4 separate regions of the Homo sapiens genome follow, and all the other regions are linked to region 2. The links are contacts of gene promoters, found by promoter capture Hi-C in blood cells and fetal thymus (Javierre and others, 2016). All regions are on one chromosome and are shown on one strand. Each heading gives the region's core, a stretch centred on a gene start or on the middle of the fragment in contact. The rest is flanking DNA. Distances are from core to core; before and after follow the strand shown.

Evidence for each region. The method cuts DNA at HindIII sites, captures the fragments that hold promoters and counts their contacts. A CHiCAGO score of 5 or more calls a contact.
Region 1: a fragment that was not itself captured here is called in contact with the fragment with the promoter of NPHS1 in region 2 in 4 of 17 cell types (M0 macrophages, M2 macrophages, erythroblasts and 1 more); the score reaches 7.1 in M0 macrophages.
Region 3: a fragment that was not itself captured here is called in contact with the fragment with the promoter of NPHS1 in region 2 in 5 of 17 cell types (M0 macrophages, M1 macrophages, M2 macrophages and 2 more); the score reaches 10.0 in M0 macrophages.
Region 4: the fragment with the promoter of FFAR3 here is called in contact with the fragment with the promoter of NPHS1 in region 2 in 10 of 17 cell types (neutrophils, total B cells, fetal thymus and 7 more); the score reaches 11.7 in neutrophils.

Annotation. Positions count from the first base shown.
Region 1 is chr19:35,487,593-35,491,222 of GRCh38, reverse strand. KRTDAP (keratinocyte differentiation associated protein) reads left to right here and starts at 759. Exons shown (of 6, transcript NM_207392.3): 1 at 759-867; 2 at 2,383-2,421; 3 at 2,520-2,561; 4 at 2,738-2,782; 5 at 3,464-3,511. The coding sequence starts at 781. The HindIII fragment of the contact is 3,143 bases long and covers 1-2,944 here.
Region 2 is chr19:35,851,254-35,855,164 of GRCh38, reverse strand. It overlaps NPHS1 (NPHS1 adhesion molecule, nephrin), which reads left to right and starts at 2,661. Exons shown (of 29, transcript NM_004646.4): 1 at 2,661-3,385; 2 at 3,493-3,708; 3 at 3,781-3,903. The coding sequence starts at 3,328. It also overlaps a transcript of KIRREL2 not described here. RefSeq lists enhancers at 2,733-3,374, 3,375-3,911. The HindIII fragment of the contact is 3,857 bases long and covers 195-3,911 here.
Region 3 is chr19:35,553,819-35,557,815 of GRCh38, reverse strand. ATP4A (ATPase H+/K+ transporting subunit alpha) reads left to right here. Exons shown (of 22, transcript NM_000704.3): 11 at 1-161; 12 at 728-903; 13 at 2,004-2,140; 14 at 2,226-2,376; 15 at 2,482-2,650; 16 at 2,740-2,894; 17 at 3,987-3,997. Among named protein-coding and RNA genes, the nearest start is that of ATP4A, 7.8 kb to the left of the region's middle. The HindIII fragment of the contact is 254 bases long and covers 1,506-1,759 here.
Region 4 is chr19:35,355,969-35,359,879 of GRCh38, reverse strand. FFAR3 (free fatty acid receptor 3) reads right to left here and starts at 1,420. Exons shown (of 2, transcript NM_005304.5): 1 at 1,231-1,420; 2 at 1-1,000. The coding sequence starts at 989. RefSeq lists an enhancer at 1-99. The HindIII fragment of the contact is 8,969 bases long and covers 1-3,911 here.

The DNA of each region.
Region 1 (3,630 bases), core at 124-2,623, 360 kb after region 2:
GACCACCTTCAATGCCAAGCTAAAGAGTTTACATAGATTTTGGTAGGGTGGAAGAAAAGGCCTGAATGAGCATGGAGCGCAGGCTCACACCTATAGTCCTTTGGGAGGTCAAGGCAGGCGGACCCCTTGAGTCCAGGAGTTTGAGGCCAGCTTGGGCAACATGGCGAGACATTTTCATCTCTACGAGAAAATTAAAAAAAAAAAAAGCTGCAACATCTCTACAAGAAAATAAAAAAGTTAGCTAGGTGAGGTGATGCGTGCCTCTAGTCCCAGCTACTAGGGAGACTGAGGTGGGAGGATTGCTTGAGCCTGGGAGGTCAAGGCTGCAGTGAGCTGTGATCACACCACTGCACTCCAGTCTGGGCAACGAGTGAGAGCCTGTCAAAAAAAAAGAAAAGAAAAGAAAAGAAAAAGCCTGAATTCTAAGAGAGGAATGAGGGATATAACGAAAAGAGACAAAGACAAAAGGAGAGGTTGCTTGGGTACCACTGCCAATCCCTTGGAGGGACAGGTCCAACCTGTCTCTGTCCCAGCCCCATCTGCATGAAGAGACCCATTGCAGTGTTACCTTCCACGTGCCTGGGGCAGAATGCGAATTGAGAAATCCGAGGCAAATGAGGAACAGTCCATGCCTCCCCCTCCCAGAGCCCCGGGGGTGGGCGACAAGATCTGGGGGTGAGTCAGTGGGGTGGGGACCCCATTTCTGTGCTCATCTGCCTCCTTGGCAATATAAAGAGCAAGCACTGAGGCCCCGCCTCAGAGCACCCCAAACTTGACGCCATGAAGATCCCGGTCCTTCCTGCCGTGGTGCTCCTCTCCCTCCTGGTGCTCCACTCTGCCCAGGGAGCCACCCTGGGTGGTCCTGAGGTGAGCACGTCACCTGCATTTTTATTCTTATACGTGTTACCCACCTACCCCTCCATCTCTCTACCTCCTGTCCATTCCTGGATAAGTGGCTCTTAGTTTTGGATTCTGATGGGGGCTGAAGAAACTGGGGCTCTGAGGAAGGGAGGAGGGAACAGAGCATCCCTGGGGAGACATTTGGGACAGAGATGCTCCTCTTTCTGGAAGGGATGGTGAAGTGTGTTGGGGAGGCTCGTGTACTGAACCTTGGGACTGAGTGGGTGGTCTGGGTTCAGACTATCTCCACCATGGGCTCTCAAGAGTGTTCACCCATTCCGTTCCAGCTGCACACATGCCTGGGGACGTGCAGGGGAAGAGGGGGAACTGGAGAACGGCAATGTGAGGCAGAGCAGCTCCAAACCCAGGCCTGCATCCACATGGGCAGCAGGTGGAGAGGGTGAAGCAAAGCAAAAAACTAGCTAGTTCTGCCTGCAGCTGACTTAACTCAAAGAGGAGTGGGGCTGGGGTGTTCTGGAGACACCCCTGCTTAGCTCCTCTTTGCTTCATTTGTGCCCCTGGGAGTGGTGCCCAGGTGACGGGTGGCTCCCTGCTGTCTCTGGAGCATAGGCCACAGTGAGAATCTTTACCATCCAGTCCTCAGCCAGAGAGGAATCCTGATGCCTATTCCGGATTTAAAAGTCTAAGACAGGGGCACAGGCTCAGCTGCTAAGGACCAAGCCAGTGGTGTCACTGAGCTGGGGGGGCTGTCAGGGCCTGAGGTGAAATGGGGCCAACTTTCCCAGTCTGAAAGGGCAGCTTTCACCCCACCTGACGCCATGGATTGGGAAGATGTGCCTAGAGTTTTACATTTTTCAGGGGAAACTAGAAATCTGGATGAATTTATGAATTCTTACTAATTCAAAATGTCTAATTCAAACCAAAAAACAAATGACCAAATTTTTATGAGATCTAAGCATCTGGATCCAGCCTGCGGGCTCCGTGTTGGGCTCTGTCATGGGGAAGACACGATGGGACACACTGAGGCCTGGGGTGGGGTCCCCATGGAGGGGGATTATGGAACCTCCAACAGTGGTGGCAATAAATCCACAAAGCAAAGCAACCTCGATCAGTGAGAGGCAGGCGGGTCACCTCAGCAGCTGGGCTCCCACCTGCTCGCAAATCTTTCCCATCCAGCTATACGGACTGAGCGTGGGTGTCTCCAGAACACCCCACCTCTTAGACTTAAGTCAACTGCAGGACAGCACTAGCTAGCTTTTCCGGAGAGGAATGCTCGGCTCCAGGCTTTCTGCCTGCTGCCCATGGTGACACTGCTTACATGTACCATTCTCCAATTCCCCCTCCTCACCCTGCACATCCGCCAACCATGTGCGCGACTGGAACGGAGACCATGGTGGGGAATGGGTTGCGTTCTTTCGGGGACTGGGCTGTGGATGAAGGCAGAGCTGGCAGACAGGGATGTGGGCAAGGGCCCTGGCATCACGTGACCCCCTGCCGCCTTTTCTCCCTCTCCTTTTCCAGGAAGAAAGCACCATTGAGAATTATGCGTCACGACCCGAGGTAAGCCGTCTGTTTTCCCCGGCCCTCCAGCCACGAGTCTGTCCTCTCTCTCTTTTTGCTTCTTAGCAACTTTCCTAACACCCTGCGTTTCTGCCTAGGCCTTTAACACCCCGTTCCTGAACATCGACAAATTGCGATCTGTGAGTACGCTTCTCTGGTGCTACCCCCACGAATACCCTCATCACAGAGGGGATAAACGCCTTGGTAGAGAGCTTGCAAAGCTGCCACGGTTCCTTCACCTTCTCCAGAGGGCTGGGGGCTAAGCTCTGGCCTCCCCTGGAGCTGACCTGCTTCTGCTGTCTCTCTTCCTCCTCAGGCGTTTAAGGCTGATGAGTTCCTGAACTGGCACGCCCTCTTTGAGGTGAGTGCTCCGGCGCCCCTTGCCCTCCTCGGTTGTCTGCAGTCATCCCAGGGTAGTGGCCACACATTTTGGCTTTAAATGTATGGGTTGGTTCCTGATCTCTGGGAGGGAGTGACTGTCCTGCCTGGATGCTGCCCAATGGGCTGTCAACGGAAGAAAGCTTCCCCCGGCGCCAGTCCTGGCTACCCGTGTTTTCCTAAGATGGTGGTGGAGGAGCAGGGCCCCAAGGACAATTGCAGAAGAGGAAGAGGCTAATCGGTCAAGATTTTATTTGAATCCCCTCATCCTCTATGGAAAAACTGAGGCCCACCCGCACTTAGAAGGCAAAGTCAGCGACAGAGCTGGGGCCCGCGTCTCCTGACTCTGCACTGACTTCTCACATGGCCTCATGCGAACGCCTTCAGCTCCCTCGGCCTCCGCTTCCTCTGTGATGTGGGGATGATGACAATTCCCACCACAAAAGGTTGCTGTAAAAACCCACTGAAATCATGCTTGTAGAGCAGCCCGTGCAAGGCAGACACAGACTAAGGCCTCAGGAAATATTAGCTCTTGATAAAGTAATGACAAAATAATGACATTATTGTTACTATGGTTACTGTGGGAGTTCATTAAGGGAATGCTTACCCATCCATGCCCGGCTGACCTGCAACACATCACTCTCTTTCTCTTTCTTTCTTTTAGTCTATCAAAAGGAAACTTCCTTTCCTCAACTGGGATGCCTTTCCTAAGGTAAGAGGTGTGGGCATTAGGAGGGTATGGAGCTTGGGGGTAAGGGAAGAAGCAGAAGATATGGGAGAGAGAGTGGGGACAGGGAAAGGAGGATCAGCCTTCTCACCAAACTGAAGGGA
Region 2 (3,911 bases), core at 1,412-3,911:
AGAGGGGAGGTGGGAGGAGGGCAAGGAGTCAAGCATGTGAGGGAAGATGGAAGTCCAGCATCGAGGATGAAGCTGGGGGCTGAGGCCAGATGCCTCATCTTGTTCCTGGGAACGATATTGGCGGGGGTCTTGGGGAGGTAGGGAGAAAACTAGCATTTCCAATTCCCGCAGGAGATAAGCAGGCAGAAGAAGCTTATCCCAGGCAAGTGTATGTGCACGCGGGGAGGGCAGGCCCACCAGCATATGGTTATAAAATCCAGGGATGTGATGAGCAGAGCCACTCGGAGATGGAGAGACACATAAGAGAAAGAGGCGTGGTCAGAGTGTGGCTGAGAACAAATATTTATGGAGCTCCTGGTGTGTGTGAGACAGACTGTGGGGTGAGGGGAGCGACAGAGGTGAGAACAGAGACAGAGAAACAGAATAACAGAGACATATAGAGATGGAGAGACACAGTGAAATAAAGATTGACTGAGATTTAACAACTTAATATAGAGAGCGAGAGAGTCTCAAACAGATGGAGAAAGATAGAAAGATAAATCAGCTGGGCACAATGACTCACGCCTGCAATCCCAGCACTTTGGGAGGCCGAGTCAGGCTGATCACCTGAGGTCAGGAGTTCGAGACCAGCCTGATCAACATGGAGAAACCCCGTCTTTACTAAAAATACAAAAAATTAGCCAGGCGTGGTGGCGCATGCCTGTAATCCCAGCTACTAGGGAGGCTGAGGCAGGAGAATCGCCTGAACCCGGGAGGCAGAGGTTGCAGTGAGCCGAGATCACACTATTACACTCCAGTCTGGGCAACAAGAGTGAAACTCCATCTCAAAAAAAGAAAAAAGAGAAAAAAGAAAAAAAAGAAAGATAAATCAAGGGCCAGGTGCGGTGGCTCATGCCTGTAATCCTAGTACTTTGGGAGGCCGAGATGGGAGGATTGCTTGAGCCCAGGAGTTCCAGACAAGCCTGGGCAATATAGCAAGACTCTGTCTCTGCAAAAACATTTAAAAAAAATTAGCCAAGTGGCGGGGTGCAGCGGCTCCCACCTGTAATCCCAGCACTTTGGGGGGCCAAGGCAGGTGGGTTACCTGAGGTCAGGAGTTCGAGACCTGCCTGGCCAACATGGCGAAACCCCGTCTCTACTAAAAATACAAAAATTAGCTGGGTGTGGTGGTCAATGCCTGTATTCCCAGCTACTCAGGAGGCTGAGGCAGGAGAATCGCTTGGACCTGGGAGGCGGAGGTTACAGTGAGCCAACATCGCACCATTGCACTCCAGCCTGGGTGACAGAGCAAGACTCCCTCTCAAAAAAAAAAAAAAAAAAAAAAAAATAGCCAGAGTGGTGATGCGGGCCTGTAGTCCCAGCTACTCAGGAGGCTGAGGCAGAAAGAACACTTGAGCCTAGGAGGTTTGAGGCTTCAATGAGCCATGATCACACCACTGCACTCCAGCCTGGGCAATAGAGAAAGACCCTGTCTCTACAAACAAATTTTAAAAAATTAGCTGGAGTGGTGGTGTGCACCTGTAGTCCCAGCTATTCAGGAGGCTGAGGCAGGAGGATCACCTGAGCCCAGGAAGTTGAGGCTGCAATGAACCAAGATCATGCCACTGCCCTCCAGCCTGGGCAACAGAGCAAGATTCCATCTCAAAAGAAAGAAAGATAAATCAAGATAGATAGAGGGAGGGAGAGAGAGAGACATGGAGAAGGAAAGAAGAGATGGGAGAGAGGGCAAGAAAAAGAGGGAGAAGAAAGCTCATGCAGTCCTTGCCAAAGGGCGCCCACTTTGGGCTCACACTGCACCCACACTGGGGGCCGGTGGAATTGGACTCTGCCTTTTACTCCCGCCCACACCCTGTGCACTCCCACGTAAGACACTGTCACACACACGCTCTCCACATGCTTATTACAGATCGCAGTTCACTCTAACCTTCCCCACTCTCACACCCACGTACACACATGCATATCTTCCCTCTCTCCCACACTCTCCCAGCCTGTCACACTCACTCTTGCATCCTCCCCAGCAGAGATCCCTGACATCATTTAGGCACTGATGTCTACTAAAAAAGGAAGGGAGGCCAGGTGCGGTGGCTCATGTCTGTAATCCCAGCATTTTGGGAGGCTGAGGCAGATGGATCACCTGAGGTCAGGAGTTCGAGACCAGCGTGGCCAACATGATGAAACCCCGTCTCTAGTAAAAATACAAAAATTAGCCAGGCATGGTGCTATATACCTGTAGCACCAGCTACTTGGGAGACAGAGGTGGGAGAATTACTTGAACCTGGGAGGTTCAAGCCATGGGAGGTGGAAGTTGCAGTGAGCCGAGATGCCACTGCACTCCAGCCTGAGCAACAGAGCAAGACTATCTCAAGAAAAGAAAGAAAGAAAGAAAGAGACTTGCCAAGGTCATGTATCAGGGCAAGGAAGAGCTGGGGGCCCAGCTGGCTGCTCCCCTGCTGAGCTGGGAGACCACCTTGATCTGACTTCTCCCATCTTCCCAGCCTAAGCCAGGCCCTGGGGTCACGGAGGCTGGGGAGGCACCGAGGAACGCGCCTGGCATGTGCTGACAGGGGATTTTATGCTCCAGCTGGGCCAGCTGGGAGGAGCCTGCTGGGCAGAGGCCAGAGCTGGGGGCTCTGGAAGGTACCTGGGGGAGGTTGCACTGTGAGAATGAGCTCAAGCTGGGTCAGAGAGCAGGGCTGACTCTGCCAGTGCCTGCATCAGCCTCATCGCTCTCCTAGGCTCCTGGCCTGCTGGACTCTGGGCTGCAGGTCCTTCTTGAAAGGCTGTGAGTAGTGAGACAAGGAGCAGGAGTGAGGGGTGGCAGGAGAGAAGATAGAGATTGAGAGAGAGAGAGAGAGAGAGACAGAGAGAGAGGAAGAGACAGAGACAAAAGGAGAGAGAACGGCTTAGACAAGGAGAGAAAGATGGAAAGATAAAGAGACTGGGCGCAGTGGCTCACGCCTGTAATCCCAACACTTGGGGAGGCCAAGGTGGGAGGATGGCTTGAAGGAAAGAGTCTGAGATCAACCTGGCCAACATAGTGAGACCCCGTCTCTAAAAAAAAAAAAAAGAAAAAAAAAAGAAAAAAGAAAAAAAAGTTTTTTTAAAGAGACAGAGAAAGAGACTCAGAGATTGAGACTGAGAGCAAGACAGAGAGAGATACTCACAGGGAAGAGGGGAAGAGGAAAACGAGAAAGGGAGGAGAGTAACGGAAAGAGATAAAAAAGAAAAGCAGGTGGCAGAGACACACAGAGAGGGACCCAGAGAAAGCCAGACAGACGCAGGTGGCTGGCAGCGGGCGCTGTGGGGGTCACAGTAGGGGGACCTGTGATGGCCCTGGGGACGACGCTCAGGGCTTCTCTCCTGCTCCTGGGGCTGCTGACTGAAGGTGAGTGGGATCCCAGCCTTGTACCCAGCGCCAAGTGGCCCCCATTTCCCACTTACCTTCCCTAGACAAACCCTCTGCCCTTTCCTTGCACCGCGCTGTGTCCTCAGGCCTGGCGCAGTTGGCGATTCCTGCCTCCGTTCCCCGGGGCTTCTGGGCCCTGCCTGAAAACCTGACGGTGGTGGAGGGGGCCTCAGTGGAGCTGCGTTGTGGGGTCAGCACCCCTGGCAGTGCGGTGCAATGGGCCAAAGATGGGCTGCTCCTGGGCCCCGACCCCAGGATCCCAGGCTTCCCGAGGTACCGCCTGGAAGGGGACCCTGCTAGAGGTAAGGGATCAGAGCCTGAGACCCTCAGCCACCAGCGGAAGCTGCGGCCCTGACTTCCGGCTCCCCCTGCAGGTGAATTCCACCTGCACATCGAGGCCTGTGACCTCAGCGATGACGCGGAGTATGAGTGCCAGGTCGGCCGCTCTGAGATGGGGCCCGAGCTCGTGTCTCCCAGAGTGATCCTCTCCATCCTGGGTATGGGT
Region 3 (3,997 bases), core at 383-2,882, 300 kb after region 2:
CCCGCGACACTTGCTGGTGATGAAGGGCGCCCCCGAGCGCGTGCTGGAGCGCTGCAGCTCCATCCTTATCAAGGGCCAGGAGCTGCCGCTGGACGAGCAGTGGCGCGAGGCCTTCCAGACCGCCTACCTCAGCCTGGGAGGCCTGGGCGAACGCGTGCTCGGTGAGACCCCTGGGCAGGGGAGGAGACTCCAGGTGCGAGGAGGAGCTAGCACAGACCCTGCCCACCACTCCCGGCCCAGCCCTGACCGTCCTCATCCCTGGCTGCTGGCTGATTTGTCGCAGTCCACAGCCTCACCCTTGACTTTCCCTGTACCAGTCCTGACCCCTGTCTGTCCTCACTTTCTACCTTGACCCCAGTCCTCACCTGGACTTTTATCCGTATCCTGACCTCTAACCTCTCCCAATTTTTGTCCTGACGCCTTAAACTTCGCTGCCTCTACCCTAGAAAGCAGATCTGTGGTCCAATTCTGGGCCTTTTACTTGCTGTGTGACCTCTGGCAAGAAATGTCCCCTCTCTGAGCCTCAGTTTCCTCATCTGTAAGATGAGAATGGGCCTCACAGGGTGGTTGTGAGGGTAGATTCAGATAATGTGAGTGAAGGGGTCAGCACAAGGTCAGGCATCCATAGGTGTTTGGTGCAAGGGGCCTGGTTATTTTACCCATTTCCTGGCCCTGCTAAGAAAGGGTGTGCCCAGGGCTCTTCCCTGACTTCCCCGTTTCCGGTCAGGCTTCTGCCAGCTCTACCTGAATGAGAAGGACTACCCGCCTGGCTATGCCTTCGACGTAGAGGCCATGAACTTTCCATCTAGCGGCCTCTGCTTTGCGGGACTTGTATCCATGATTGACCCACCCCGGGCCACCGTCCCTGATGCTGTGCTCAAGTGTCGCACCGCAGGCATCCGGGTATGCCACTGTGGGGAGGAACAAGTGGAGTGAGGACAGAGGATGGCAGCAGGATTTGGGTTGAAGAACCCCATGACAAACCCACCTGAAACTGGCTTGAACCAAAATGCATTGGTTTATGATACTGAAAAATTCTGGGGAATTAAGCTTCAGGTCTAGCCAGATCCAGGAGCTCAGTGTCATTAGGAATTTTCCTTTCTCCATGTCTCAGCTCTGCTGTTCTCTTTGCTGGCTTTATTTGCAGGCACTCCCTTCACTTGGGGACACACACACCCCTGCTCCAGCAGCTCAAACTTAACTCCCACCTGCTTAGCCACCCCACAAAAAGAGAGTGCCTCTTTTGCAGTAGCACTGGATTGGGTCACTCATTTATCCCTGAGCCAGTCACTGGGGCTGGGGGATGGAAGACCTTGATTGGCCAGGTCTGGGCTTACTTACCCAATCTTAGCCAGGGACCTCACTGCAACTGATGGTGTAGGGGAGAGGAGTGGTTCCCCAAACACAAAACAAGGGTGGGAAAGCCAAGGCCAGGCAGGCAATGCCCAAGCCCTTCCCGTGTCTCTACGGCCCTGTTACATCGGGCCTTGTTACCTTTCTAAGCTTGTTCGTTAGCCCTCTTTCCTTGTTCACTCCTCTGCAGTTATGGTGTCCTCCCTGCTGTTCCTCCGACAGTTCGGGCCTGTCCTCACCTCAGGGCCTTTGCACCTGCTGTTCTCCCTGCCAGGAGCACTCTTCTCCCAGCTTTCCACGTGGCTGACTCTCTCACCTCTTACAGGTCTCTGCTCAGATATCACCTTCTCAATAAGCCCTTCCCTGGGTACACTTAAAATCGAGTCACCGTTTCCTTCACCAAGCTTAATATGTTTTTTTCCACTTTCTAACACACTATATAATTCGTTTCTTTATTTTCTGTCACCCTCACTAGAGCTCCTCAAGGACAGGGATTTTTGTCTCTTTTGTCTCTGCTATATCCCAGGCACGTAGGAGGTGGTCACGCTTGGTCAAGTAAATGAACACGTGTATCAGCAGATGTCTCCCAGGGAGGACAGGGAGATTGGGCTGATCTGAAGGGGTCAGTGATCCACTGGTTCCCCCTACAGGTGATCATGGTAACGGGTGACCACCCCATCACCGCCAAGGCCATTGCAGCCAGTGTGGGCATCATCTCGGAAGGCAGCGAGACAGTGGAGGACATCGCTGCCCGCCTCCGTGTGCCCGTAGACCAGGTTAATCGCAAGTAAGCCCCCCCAGACCTCCCCGGGGTTCTCCCCACATCTGGCACAGACCGAGGTCCCAGCGAGGTCCTCCCATCTCCTCCCCAGGGATGCCCGTGCCTGTGTGATCAATGGCATGCAGCTGAAGGACATGGACCCATCGGAACTGGTCGAGGCCCTGCGCACCCACCCCGAGATGGTGTTTGCGCGCACCAGCCCCCAGCAGAAGCTGGTGATCGTGGAGAGCTGCCAGCGGCTGGTGAGCCCTGCTGATGAGGGTGGGCAGGCGGGCAGACAGGCGGGGCTGGTCTTGGACCGGCCTCTCACTGACCACCCACCCACCACCTGCACCCACTGCCTGCAGGGTGCGATTGTGGCCGTCACGGGGGATGGTGTGAATGACTCCCCAGCTCTGAAGAAGGCAGACATCGGAGTAGCCATGGGCATCGCTGGCTCAGATGCTGCCAAAAATGCAGCTGACATGATCCTGCTGGATGACAACTTTGCCTCCATTGTGACAGGCGTGGAGCAGGGTCCGAGCCACGCCAGGGGGAGGGCAGGCAGTGTGGGCACAGGAGGGAGAGGGCTGTGAGGAGGCTGAGGTGCCCACCCTACCCCACAGGTCGACTGATCTTCGACAACCTGAAGAAGTCTATTGCCTACACATTGACCAAGAACATCCCAGAGCTGACACCCTACCTCATCTACATCACCGTCAGCGTGCCCCTGCCCCTCGGGTGCATCACCATCCTCTTCATCGAACTCTGCACTGACATTGTAAGTCCACAGCCCAGGGTACCCATCCACAGGGTGCCCAGAGACACTTGCTTGCAGATGGACAGGAGGGACAGAGACCACCACAGACACTCTTGGGCACAGAGTGACAGACAAGACCTGTGTGTGCAATGACAGCCAGTGCAGGACACATGGGTGGCAGGCAGGTGAACAGACCTAAATGGACATACAGCCATGCACACACAGGCGGACACTCAGGTAGGCCCGGGCCGACCCATGCACACACATGACTCAGATACAGATACTCAGACAGAGATGGAAACAGAACAGGTATCTGGCCAAACTTGAATCACAGACACGTGCCCCTAAACAGACACGGACAAATAAACCCCCTCAGATAGACCCCATGGCAGACAGACAGAAAAGAACCACAGATACAGTCACGAATGCAGCCAGAGGCGCAGCTGTGTTGACAGGTATTTATTCGGTAACATTTACACAGTGCTTTCTCTGGGCCAGACACACCATCATTTCCTTAATTTTGTACTCATAACCACACTATGAGATGAGTTTTGTTACTATCACCCGTACTTTACTGATGAGCTCATCAAGGCATAGACAGGTAGAGTGGATTGTCCCAGGTCACTGGGCAAATAAGTGGCCCGGCTGTGACTTGAGCTTGAGCAGTCACAGGTCCCACAGCCTGTGGTCGTGGTCAGTATGCTCTGCTGCCACTCTAGGCACAAGCAGATGAAGGGGCACGGCGACACTGAGAGACTGAAGATACACAGAGATAGGGAGTGACACAGAAATACACAAGAGCAGATACAGTCACAGAGAATTACACTGGAGACAGGGACAGAGAAACAGAGTGAGGAACAGAGAAAGAGAGGGAGGGAGACAGAGGGAGAAGATAAAAGCAGATGTTCTTACGAAGATGGGCACCAGGATGCCAACACCCAGGGGCCAGTGGGGCCCAGGCTGTCCAGGCTGGTGTGGCTGTGCCGTCCCTGCAGGTCCTGCCTGCTAACCTCAGTCCTGTTCCTGCTCACAAGTGGGGGAAGGGGGACCCGAAGTGGAGGGGACAAGGGCCCAGCCAAACCCTCAGTCCCAGTTCCTTCCACTCCTGGCCAGTTCCCATCTGT
Region 4 (3,911 bases), core at 171-2,670, 490 kb after region 2:
TCACTGGTCTTTCTTTCAGCTGGTCGGTCCGCTCTCTGCTCCTCCCCTCCCTTCTGCTCCTTCAGCTCCATGCTGCTCTCCTGCTGCCACTGGCCCCAGAGCCCACACAACCTCCTCAGCAGCTCATGAAAGTCGGCTTGGAACCCGGAGGAGGAGAAGTAGTAGACAAAGGGGTCGACACAGGAGTTCAGGGTGCTGAGAAGCGTCACGTAGATCCTCCACGCCGGGCTTTCACCGCAGATATAGCCCACGACATGGGACACGTTGTAGGGCCCAAAGCAGACAAGGAAGTTGAGCAGCGTGGCCGCCAACAGCCCCGCCACCCTCCTCTGCCGGCGGTGGCTGCCCCCTCTGCCGAGGATCCACACCAGGCGGCTGTAGCAGTAGCTGGTGATGATCAGCGGGACCACAAAGAGGACCACAGCCATCTCCAGCCGCACGGGCAGGAGGATGGCTAGCTGGTCCTTCCGGAACTCCAGGTAGCAGGTCCCATTGGTGCCCTGGCTGTGGGAGATGTCCCCTGAGAATTCTATGACGTAGACCACGCTGCAGTGAGCAGAGGCCAACAGCCAGCAGGCCACACTCACCAGACCTGCCTGCCCCAGCCTCGGCCGGGTCTTGTACCACAGTGGGTGGGCCACACTCAGGAAGCGTTCAATGCTCACAGCTGCCAGGAAGAGGGCGGTGAGATAGATGGTGGTGAAGAAGATGAATCCAGAGAGTGGGCAGAGGATGAAGGGCAGGGGCCAGTGCATGCCATTGGCTGCCTCCACCATGCGGAAAGGCAGGAACAGCAGCAGGAGCAGGTCCGAGGCGGTCAGGTTGAGCAGGAGCACGTCCACGGCCACCGGGCGGCGCTGCAGCTTGCCCACGAAGACCACCAGGGCCAGCAGGTTGAGGGGGAGCCCCACCAGGAAAGTGAGAAGGTACACCGAGAAGACGAACCAGTGATTGCCGGAGAAGTAGGACTGGTCGGGGCCTGTATCCATGGTGGTGGCCACTGGTGAGAGAGAGTAACATGGAGTTGGTAGTGGGGGCCCTAACGGCCTCTGGCCAGCAGCATCTCCCCTAAAAGGGCACGAGGTCACTACGCCCACCCCTCTTGTCTCTGGGTGCCTTCCAGGCGGGGTCAGCCTGCCTGTCTTCCTGAGCATGCCCTGTCCCCTGTCCCTTCCCCAGCAGAGAAGCACCAAGGTGCTCCTCCACCCAGCCCCTCGGGCCCAGGCTCACCTGCTTCTTTGAGACCCCAAATGCTCTGCCGCACAGCACCTTGCTGTCTCTCCAGACCTAGTGCAGTTGGCTATTTATCCGGCAGAACTGATAAAGACCTGGCCGTGCCCATGACGTCACTCACTGTTGAGCAGTGGCACATAGATGCCTTGAGCTCCGTTGCCAGGGCTGGTCAGCATGCTAAAAGGGGAACAAATTCCACAACTGCGTGCCTCCCTCCTCATGCAGTCTCAGCTGGGATGCTCTAAGCAGGCCCCAGCCGACGTCTTCCTCTCCCCTTCTTCACTTGAATTTTGTCTGCTTCTCTAGAATGGCATTTATCCAATTTGCCTTGTAAGGGCAGGAAGTGTGATGCAATGACAGAGAGCGAGCTCCGTGAGGTCTGTTTCTTCCTGACTTTGTGATTTGGGGGAAATGACTTAAATTCTCCATGTTTCTGCTTTCTCCCCTGCAGAACAGAGCTCATCATAATACCCATCTCATAGATCAACGCATTAACACATGCAAATTAAAACAATATGTAGGTCGATTAAAAGATTACTAATACATGTTGAGTGGTTTGACGGAAGCCTGGCGTGTGGTCGTGAGCAGGCAGCGGATGCCAGCTGCTATTTTCCCTGTCACTGGTGCAGGATTATCTCTGGGGTGACAATGTAATAATAATAACAATAATAATGGTGGTGGCGATGATGACAGCAGCTGCCTTTTCATGGGCACATAATCCATAGCAGACACTGCTTCTAGGGCAACGCTTTTATGTCATAAAATCCTTGTCCTTCACCGTAGGGAAGTGACTTGCTCCAGGTGATACAGCTTGTGAAATGTCACCACTAGGGTTCAAACCCAAGTGCTGTCCAGTTTCACAGGTGATCTATTAGTTCATTCAAACAATCACAGGGCACAATGAGATATGATTTCACATCCACTAGAATGGCCACAAGCAAAAAGTCAGACAATGCCTATGGTCGGCGAGAATGTAGAGAGATAGGGGCCTCATTCACTGCTGGTGAGAATAATGGGAGGTGGTGTCCCTGCTTTGGAAAGCAGGTGGCAGTTGCTTAAAAAGTTAAACATAAATTCACCATGCGATCCAACAATTCCACCGTAGGTATTTACTTAAGAGAAGTGGAAACTCAGGTCTACTTAAAGACTCAGTCCTAAATGTTCACAGCAGTGTTGGTCATAGTCACCAACAGTGGAAATGTTACCTGGCAGCCCATCAGCTGGTGAGTGAATAAAAAAGTGGCACATCCATATACTGGAATTCTATTTGGCAAAGAAAAGGAATGAGCTACCCATACACACTACAGCCTTATGTTGAGTGAAACAAGCCAGACGTAAAAGACCATGTACATATATTGTCAGATTTCATTTATTTATATGATATGTCCAGAATAGGCAAAGTTATAGAGTCAGAAAGTAGACTCGTGGTTGTCTGGGGGATGGAGGTAGAAATGAAGATTAAGTTGTTTTTTTTTTTTTTTTTTTTTTTTTGAGACAGGGTCTTGTTGTCGCCCAGGCTGGAGTGCAATGGTGCAATCTTGGCTCACTGCAAACTCTGCCTCCCGGGTTCAAGAAATTCTCATGCCTCAGCTTCCTAAGTAGCTAGGATTACAGGTGCCCGCCACCACGCCTGGCTAATTTTTGTATGTTTAGTAGAGATGAGGTTTCGCCATGTTGGCCAGGCTGGTCTCGAACTACTGACCTCAGGTGATCCGTCCACCCCAGCCTCCCAAAATGCTGAGATTATAGGCGTGAGCCACCCCGCCTGGCCCAAGATTAAGTTTAAATGAACATGAAGTAAAATCCTTTACTAGGGTCATGAAAATGTTCTAAAACTAGCTGATGGTAATGGACTCACACCTCAGTAAATTTACTAAAAATCATTGAATTGTACACTTAACATTGGTGAATTTGATGATATGTACATAATATCTCAATTAAGCTGTTAAAAGTGCAGCAGTAGGCTGGGTACGGTGGCTCAGGTCCGTAATTTTAGCACTTTGGCAGGCTGAGGTGGGAGGATTGCTTGAGCACAGGTTGTTTGAGACTAGCCTGGGCAACATGAGGAGACCCTATGTCCACAGGGGAAAAAAAAAAAAAAAAGAGAGAAAGAAAAAAGAAATTAGCTGGGTTTAGTGGCATGTGCCTCTGGTCCCAGCTACTTGGGAAGCTGAAATGGAAGAATCGCTTGAGCCCAGGAATTCAAGGCTGCAGTGAGCCATGACTGTGTCACTGCACTCCATCCTGAGCAACAGAGTGAGACTGTGTCTAAAAAAAAAAAAAAAAAAAAAAAACAACACGCAGTTGTGAACAAAAAGTTTTTGCTGTCATGCTGTTTACATTACATTTGGTGGTGAGGGCTTGGGGGATGGAGTAGGGGAAGGATCATGAAGACGTGGATACTGAAGAGGCAAAGAGCCACTGGAGGGAACATTGGGGCAGGGGAGTCACGGGTGCACAGACTTGGCCTGCTGGGGGAGCTGATAGGAGGTTTGGGTCTCACAGGAGTGAGAGGCGCCTGGGGTGGATCACACTGAGTCTCCTGGGCCCCAGGGAGGCACTGGATTTGCCCTAAGTGGGGGGAGGCAGGAGGAACTGGGAGAAGCAGCCCAGTACCCAGCAGGGGCTATGGAGCAGGAGTCAAAGAGAGTGGGCCCTGGCACCCTGTGATGCGGGAG